Regions from separate parts of the Homo sapiens genome. Here all the other regions are linked to region 1. The links are contacts of gene promoters, found by promoter capture Hi-C in blood cells and fetal thymus (Javierre and others, 2016). All regions are on one chromosome and are shown on one strand. The core of a region is centred on a gene start or on the middle of the fragment in contact, and the rest is flanking DNA. Distances in the headings are between cores, read along the strand shown. Region 1 holds the start of CDO1 (cysteine dioxygenase type 1). Region 2 overlaps LOC105379129 (a long non-coding RNA gene). Region 3 overlaps FEM1C (fem-1 homolog C).

Evidence for each region. The method cuts DNA at HindIII sites, captures the fragments that hold promoters and counts their contacts. A CHiCAGO score of 5 or more calls a contact.
Region 2: a contact is called between a fragment that was not itself captured here and the fragment with the promoter of CDO1 in region 1, in 10 of 17 cell types (monocytes, total CD4 T cells, total CD8 T cells and 7 more). The highest score is 9.0, in monocytes.
Region 3: a fragment that was not itself captured here is called in contact with the fragment with the promoter of CDO1 in region 1 in 1 of 17 cell types (total CD8 T cells); the score reaches 5.7 in total CD8 T cells.

The regions. Positions count from the first base shown.
Region 1 is chr5:115,815,297-115,818,048 of GRCh38, forward strand. It overlaps CDO1 (cysteine dioxygenase type 1), which reads right to left and starts at 1,363. Exons shown (of 5, transcript NM_001801.3): 1 at 932-1,363. The coding sequence starts at 1,101. LOC124901049 (a long non-coding RNA gene) reads left to right here and starts at 1,792. Exons shown (of 2, transcript XR_007058908.1): 1 at 1,792-1,875. The HindIII fragment of the contact is 6,274 bases long and covers 1-2,752 here.
Region 2 is chr5:115,313,462-115,316,213 of GRCh38, forward strand. It overlaps LOC105379129 (a long non-coding RNA gene), which reads left to right. Exons shown (of 5, transcript XR_948684.3): 2 at 750-834. Among named protein-coding and RNA genes, the nearest start is that of CCDC112, 18 kb to the left of the region's middle. The HindIII fragment of the contact is 4,611 bases long and covers 1-2,752 here.
Region 3 is chr5:115,523,290-115,526,041 of GRCh38, forward strand. FEM1C (fem-1 homolog C) reads right to left here. Exons shown (of 3, transcript NM_020177.3): 3 at 1-2,328. The coding sequence ends at 1,019. Among named protein-coding and RNA genes, the nearest start is that of FEM1C, 20 kb to the right of the region's middle. The HindIII fragment of the contact is 2,106 bases long and covers 319-2,424 here.

The DNA.
Region 1 (2,752 bases), core at 113-2,612:
TTTACCTCTGGCCCCGGAGGATTGGTAGAGAGATTCGACTTAATCACCAAGCCGGGGCTGCAAAAAAGCCAGCTTACCAGGGCACCTCACTCAAGTACATCTGGGAAGTAGGGGTCTTTAATTTACATTACAGATCGTCAGAAGCAAGGATAAGATAAATCAGATCATTTGGGGGCTGAAAAAAACGACGGTCGAATATTTAATCTGCGAAACTTGGCAGTGGATTTGAATAAACCCACAGTCGGGGAAGTTAGTTAAATTGGTTTGGGAAAGGGAACAGCAGAAATTCCGTAGTGGCAGCTGACGGCCACAAGACGCTATTTTACATGAGTAAAAATGCTTGCTATAAGGTGCCCGGTTGCAGGCGACCGAAGGCGCAGTGATGGAGAACTGACGCGGGTGACTTGTCTTCTTCAACATCACACACTTCTCCCGATGGCTGATGTAGTGCTCCCCTGGGAGCACCCTCTGCTAGTCCGGCCAGACGGTTCCTTAAGGTGTCAGGAGGGCCCGAACCTGAGTGCGGTCTCTCCGCATCTCCGCGCCCGGGGTTAACGATGGCTTGGGAGTGTGGGCATTGCTCCCGAGGCCAGGGGCAGGAGGACTGGTGGTTTAGAAGCAGAGGGGTTTGCGGGAGAGAAGAGAACAGAAAATCTCGCAGACGCGCGGTGGCCTCCCTTCCCGGCGCCTGTCCGCCGTTCCCGGCCGGAGGTCAGCAAGGCCAGTAGGATCCACCTTCCGCCTGCGCTGTGGCCGCGGAGCCCCAAGCGAGTCGTGCCAGCCCCGCGGCTGGCCAGCGAGGGGGCGAGCGGCGGACGCAGCGCGGCCCGAGCTTCCCGAGCCAGTCACTTTGGGCTGCGTCCCCCACGTCCATTCCTCCTCAGACGGGGCGAGTGGGCGCCGCCTGGCATTGAAGCTGCAGCGCGCTCACCTGTACTGGTCGAACTTGGCGTACATTGCCCACTCGGTGGGGTCGCTCTCGTAGGCTTCCATGATGGCCTGCACCTCCTCTACATTGACCTCATCGCCGGCAAAGAGCTGGTGCAGGATGCGGATCAGATCAGCCAGGGTCCGTGGCTTCAGCACTTCGGTCTGTTCCATCTCGTGGGGAGCTGGCTGCGCGCGCGTCTCACTGCTGGGCTGCGGTGGAGGAGCTGAGCGAGCCAAGGAGCTGGGGGCGAGGGAGCCTAACAGCCCGCTAGACCGCTAAGCAGACACACACGCACAAACCCAGCATTAGAGTGCCGAAACGTAAGGATGTCGTCGCAGAGACAGCAAGAGACCCACCCCCAGGCCCCTGGCAGCGCAGTGGATCCGGGATCGCTGGAGACGCGGTGCACACACAAATCAGGTTCAGATCTGTGGGGTTCATCCTCCCGGGCCCCTTTTAAGCGCTTGGAGTCACTAGGAATGTACCAACGGCCCTCGGAGGGAGGACGAGGCGGAGAGCCACCCAAGAAAGGTGGCGGAGGCGGGGAGACCCTGCGGGCACGGCTCACGCGCACATCCCCGGCTTCCCCGGGCTCCGCGCCTTCCCAAGAGCCCCGTTGTCTCCGGCGTCCCAGGGATCGCGTGGGCTCCGCGCAATCTCTCCCCCACTTTAACGGCGCGTTTTAGCCGCCCGGCCTAACGCCTCTCCCCGCTCCACCTCCGCCGCTGTGGTTCGCGACGCTGGGACGTAGACAAAAAGGGTCGGAGGAGATGGCTGCGGGGACTGACGCTGAGTAAAGGAGGAAAAGAAAAGGGAAGGAGAGGGACACTTCTTCCAAATAGAGAATTGTGAGGAGCCTGCGAAAATTGAGGATGGATTCCACTCCTAGGCCAGAGAGTGCCTGTTTTGTCGATTGAAACTATCCACGATATGCCCCAGGCTAGGTGAAAATAAGTCCAAGACTTTATATATATATATATTTAAGTATACACACACACATATTTTTTAAAATGCGTACTGAAATATATTTTGACAAAGGAGACTCGGGTCTCTAGTAAGACAATTAGTGAAATGATGGAAAACCAAGAACTCTTTGATTTTAAAATCAAATATTTTCTTTTAAAAAATATCCAGTGCAAATAACCTGATATTTCATTTGATGGTGTAAAAGGGGGCTTTTTCTGAGGGGATAGGGCGGGCTCTGACGCAATAATTTAAGAGGCTATAATTATATTTGAATCTTTCAACCTTAGGCATGTGCTTGAAGGAGCCTGCTAGTACATACATATAAGGAAACACGTTTCTACGTCATGCATAGCACCTAGTACGTTGGGAACAACACAAATCAAGTACAGTAGGATTTAAATGAGAAAGATGTGAAAGGTGGAAGAAATGCAAGTGTAGATTTCTTCCTTCTCATTATGGATGGACGCAGGGAATAATTTGGATTTAAGGTTATTAAAGTTCTAGACTTCTGAAGACCTGTTTTTTTCTAGACTATGATCACCCTCCCTCGTGTATATACATGTATACAATGAAATTTACTTGTGCCAGGTAGTCTTAAACATCTCTGGTAAAACTCGCTACATTATATTCTAACAGTGTTGTTAAAAGCGGAATCACCTATTGTTCAAAAATGGCTACAAGTAGAAAGCATTCCAGAAGCCAGCCTTGGTGATGTGTGTTGCTGCGGGGTAGTGAATTAACAAAGTATTTTGTGACAGAGTAACCTGTAAACTTTTCATGGTTTCCTCAAATTATTTTTTATTCTTGGCAATGTTTTCTATTGAGTCTCTTAATTACTTCATTTCAGCTAGTCTA
Region 2 (2,752 bases), core at 130-2,629, 500 kb before region 1:
TCTGAAAGATTCATGTAGCCTAAAAATAAATTTTGGGTTGCCTTCAAGTTATGACATGCTTCTAATCCTAAATCTGCTTGCTTATGTGAAACAGATTCCATTAATTTTTATACTATATCCTAGAACCATAGAATTCTTGAATTTAGATGTAGAAGTGTCCTTTTAGAGCCCATTTTATTTTATCATTCACCTTCGGCTTTGAGCGAATTTTCATATCACAACCATTTGAGGGAACCAAGTTTCTCACAAAACCAGAAAAAAGGTAATTTATGTGGGCTGAAATGTCTTTGTGCCAGTCATGAGTAGGGCTGAGAGGACACCCTTGGGTAATGTTATTTACGTGAGAGACAGGTGAAGGGCCTGCAGGATGTAACCTAATTTAGTCAGACATTTCTGGCACAAAAAAACCAGTGACCTATAAACCAGTACTTTCCTGCAATTTCTAGTGAAACCAGGTCACTATTTCCAGCCTTTACTTTGTTCCCTGGACTCTTAGCATTGAGCTATGTCATGAATTTCCTTTTGATAAGGGTAATTAGTAAATTTATGGGAAAAATTTAAGTAAAAGCTCACAAGAATCTTTGGAAAGTGTCACTCTATAAAGTGTTCAGTTATGTCCCAGTAAGTCATGGCTGTATTATACTAGGATCACAAATTCTTAGAATTGTTATGGTAGTTTTTGTTCTTTTTAGTACATTGAGAAGAATCTGGTGAAACTTTCCTTTGATTCAGTTTAATTTCCCCCTCAGGTAGAAGGCTATAATGACCCAATGGGCCACCAGTTTGATATTTGATTCTGAACAATTTATTCACCAAGAATGGCTGCCTGAATGAGTAAGTATAGATGTTAAATTGGACTTGGTATCAGAATCACCAAAGGATAGTATTGCCCCTCTCCTTCCCCAAGGTTTTCATATGCTACCCTTTAGATCAGGATGGGAAAGAAACAGGATCCTATATTGGGTTTAGCTGAGGCTGATCGAAGCATTTTAATGCAAAATGCATTAGCTGGCAAGATGGCACTAAGCAGAATATATATATATATATATATATATATAGAGAGAGAGAGAGAGAGAGAGAGAGAAATAATATGTAGAAATTATCTTAGTTATAATAGGGGAACACAAAACAATAATGGTTCAAAAGCCTGTCTAATAGTTTTCTAAGGATATGTTCCTTTAAAGCAAACCATTCTGTGATTACATTTTTGGGAATGTTCTACTCTCCCATCCCTCTCTGCCAATGGCCCCTGGAACAAGTTTAAGGCTACATGTCCTAGACCTACGAAGTACGTGGCACTAAACTGAGACTCACCTTTAAGAGGAGTGGCTGTTCATGAACAATGTGGATCCTTCAATGTGTTTGGGGCCAAAACGAGATTGAGGAGCATTAACTTAAAACAATTTGAGGATAGGCCTTATAATATTTGGCTTTCCTTTCCCTTTAATTTCAAATGATAACTGTGTCTACTTTCACTACACTTGAATCCTTAATTTGAAACTCTATTCTCAGTAGGGTGTGGAATTGACTACTGTACCTCTCTATGCTTCACCATAAATACACAAACACATTCACACACACATGCACACATTTATACAGCACATTCAAACATAAAAGAGTGTATGGTGATGAGTTAGTTGACCTCCCTGCCTTGGAATCCATTCCCCTCTCTAGAAGTAACTATTGTTACAGGTTTCTTTTTTTTCTTTTTTTTTTTTAATAATTCTAGAGATATTGTTTCCTACATAAGCAAATACATGTGTAGGCATTTATATATACATATATCTTCTTTTTACACAAATATTTACATAATACATACACTGTTTACACATGCTTTTTAAATTTAAATATATCTTAGAGATAATTCTATATCAGCACACGATTATTCTTTTTTGATGGCTGCAACATATTTGTGAGAGAAAACCTGACAATCTCTTAGCTTAACTGTAGTTATGTTACTTTTTCCTTAGTCTCACGTAATTGTCAACTCTAATTATGTCAACCCATAATTAGAGATTGTGGCAGCATTTGCAATTAGTCAAATAGCAATCACCTGTAGAAAAGCATTTTGTTGTCCATCTATCTGACTCTGACTTCCTTTTATTTGGTCCAGAACTTGGGTGGGAAGAGGGATTTTCTATAGAAAATGACTTTCTATAGGTGATTGGAAGGTACTTTGCTAAAAGTGAGATATTTTTTAGTTTTCCCTGTATTTTTAAAGCCTCTTTTTAAAAGAAAGACTTAAAACTCCATTTTTCCCAAATACCTTCCCTCCTCTTGGCACCAATTGTTACTTCATCTAAATATGTGTAGGATTAGTTTTACATTATCCCCAGGTCTTTTTAATAGGATTGTGTTTCCTGTTTTCACTCAGTTAGATGACCAGAGAGTATACAAGGGTCTAAAGGCAAGCCAGAGTTTTGGAAGGATAGAGGAAGAATCCAAGCTACATCTCTGTCCTAGCCCAAGAAGTTCTTTAGCTATATTGGCCTCAGAAAATCTGCCTTTGGAACTTTTGTTGGCATAATGTTTTGGTAAAACCAATCTGATATTCTTCTGGTCTATTTCTTTAGATTTAATAAGATTTTTCTAATGAGATCACAGGCATTGCAGTAATTGAAGGCTCTGTCAAAGTCTCATTCAAAGTCTGGGAAAGTGACAGTGAGAGGAGTCTGCTGTGTTACCCTTCCCTCACCCCACCACCAGCAATTAACAACCAACAATGGCTCTCTTTCCTCATACCAGCAGATTT
Region 3 (2,752 bases), core at 122-2,621, 290 kb before region 1:
TTTGCAGTTCAATTACTGAGTATTTCAATGTGACTCATTAAGCTGTGTGATGAACTTTGAAGTTAAATTTAAGCAAATTCTCTACACCTAATCACACCATCAGCACAAGCAGGACAATGCTGGAGCAGCATGAAAGGTGGGTCACTTTAAAAAGATTCTTCCTTTTACTGCATGATATATTAAGATGACAGACCTAAATTTCAACTGGGTTAATGAGTTAGAATAGATCTGTTTCCCAAATTTAGCACACAATAATTTCAGTGGATTAGAGAAAGAAACCTCAGATGTGAAGAAAGTGAAGAAAAAAACAAACAAAAAAGCTTGAGCTATAATAGCTAACCTGCAGCTCTAAAAATTGTCATGCTACAGAGTACTTTCAAAAAATTAAGTTTGTAACAAACATAAGAAAACAGTGTTTTGAGTTGAAGTTGACCAACTGCTGCATAGAAAATATGCTAACATACAACAGTCAAGTTTAAGCCTGTGCATAGAGAAGATAAAGCACTTATGGTAACTGCAAATGGTAACGAGTCCTTAAGGTTTGTACAACCTAGTATGGGTCCATAAGGAAAAAACTGTAGTAGAAATGGTTAGGACAAACAATAAAGTAGAAACAGGGGGGAAACTTGAGAAGAGAAGAAAGAAGCAAGAAAAAAAGACTTTCAATTGTATAAAATTCACAAACCAGTAAAGTATAAAGACACCATGGAGAAATGGTTAACTCTGCCCCAAACACCCAACAGCAAACAAAACCAGAATGAATAAGCCTTTGGCAGACAATTTTAGAAATTTGAATGTTACATTTCTCAATAATTCACAAACAATATATTATATGGTATATTTATATTAAATATTGGGAAACCAATGTTGTAAATTTGATGCTTATAATGCTTTAGCCAATGAGAGCACAATGATATCAATCAAGCTAAATGAATGCTGGTGTTATCACAACAGTGCTCATTTATGAAACAACTGTTACCAATTCGTGCTTTAACAGTGCTAAAATACAGTCAAGTTATCATCTATGAAGGGAAACAAAAGTCTCTAGCTTTTCTGGGATATGCCCTTTATAATATATTCTATGATTCACTATGACACGAGCAGCAAGACACTGCAATGTGGTATGATTTATAGGCTGGATTAAATTTTTAGCTATTTCCTTCTCATCCAGCAAGTCACTAGCAGTTTGTTTGTGCAAGTTTGTGGCATCAAAATGTGCACCTGATTTAATAAGGAGATTCATGATGTCTGGATGGTTGTTAAGAGCAGCGATATGCAGGGGACTGTTGTCATCCGAGTCTCTGACGTTCACATCAGCACCACATTCTATCAGTATTGCAGTAACTTGTAGAGATGGAAATTTACAAACAGGGTACCGCCCTACACATGTAGTATTCTTGTCCACAGCCAGATGAAGAGGGCTGAAGTTATTCTTTCCCCTTGGATGCAGCTTAAGAAACCTGTATATAGTCTGCTTTTTGAAATGGTCTTGTTCTAGAGTACAAGGAACTTTCTCTAACAAGCAAATTAAGTGCAAAATAATAGAAAGGGCCTTATTTAACTGTAATGGGTCAGCTGGACACTGAGTTTGTTTGATAGCTCGCTCTATTTCAAGGACGCTTTTGCAAAGTATGCCCATAAGATCATCAAATGTAACAGTAGTACCCAGCAGGCCTTTAGCCCTATCCTGTAGCATAAAGGAGAATAGTTCTGCAAAAGATAATAAGCTGCTGGCGGTCATTGGGCTTAAAGGATCCAAATTGCTCTGCTGCATATCCAAAGCATACTTCCATAGGTTGATGCATCGTTTGAAATTTCCAGAGTCTGCATAGACAGCGCCTCTATATCTAATATAGTAAGAGGTATCAGGATGAGAAGGACCAAGAATACGTTCTCTGATTAATAGTGCCTGCATTCTCATCTCATCAGGATCAGCAATAAGACCTTCTAGCTCTTCTGCACTGTTCACTTCCTTGGCATAATCATAAGCCATTATTAGTGTCTGTGGCACTGGTTTACTAATAATATTAGTCCTATCACTGTACCTCATGTTCATTGCCTTTTTCCAGTATTTCAAAGCCCCAAGCAGATCTCTTTTTTTGTCTACAAATGTAGCTCCCAGAAGCTCTAGAGCATTAATACGTTCTGTCTTGCTGGTCTGTGCATGGTGTGTCAGAAAATCCACAATATTTGTGTGACCAGTCACACTTGCTGAGAGAAGGGGAGTCATTCCATAACCATCCTTTTCCATCTTGGCACAATACATAAGAAGCATCTTCATGATGTCCAAACTTCCAGATTCTGCACAATCATGCAATGCAGTATTACCTTAAAGAGAGAGAGAAAAAAAGAAATAACATACATTGAGGGACCAAAATATAATGTAATATATATATGCACTTTAGAACCTAAAGAAAAGCAGGAAGCTTTAAGTTCCTAAGTAGGACATACTTGGTTTACAAACGAGAAAAAAAAATTCCCCCAGTACCTAAAACTAGTATCTGATATTAAACTTATTGAATAAATGACATGACCAAATTAGGTGTAAAAAGACATCCAAAGTCACCAGAAGAAATTCAAACTAATCCATGGTCTCTTCGTATTTTTCATTAATGTTTTAAAGTGCATATTTTATTATCTAAAAATCGGTAGAATACAAATAACCAGCTATTCACCATTTTACTGACAAGTCACTTAACTTCCAGGTCAGTTTCCACATTTATAAACAAGGAATTGGTCTTTTTTTTTTTCT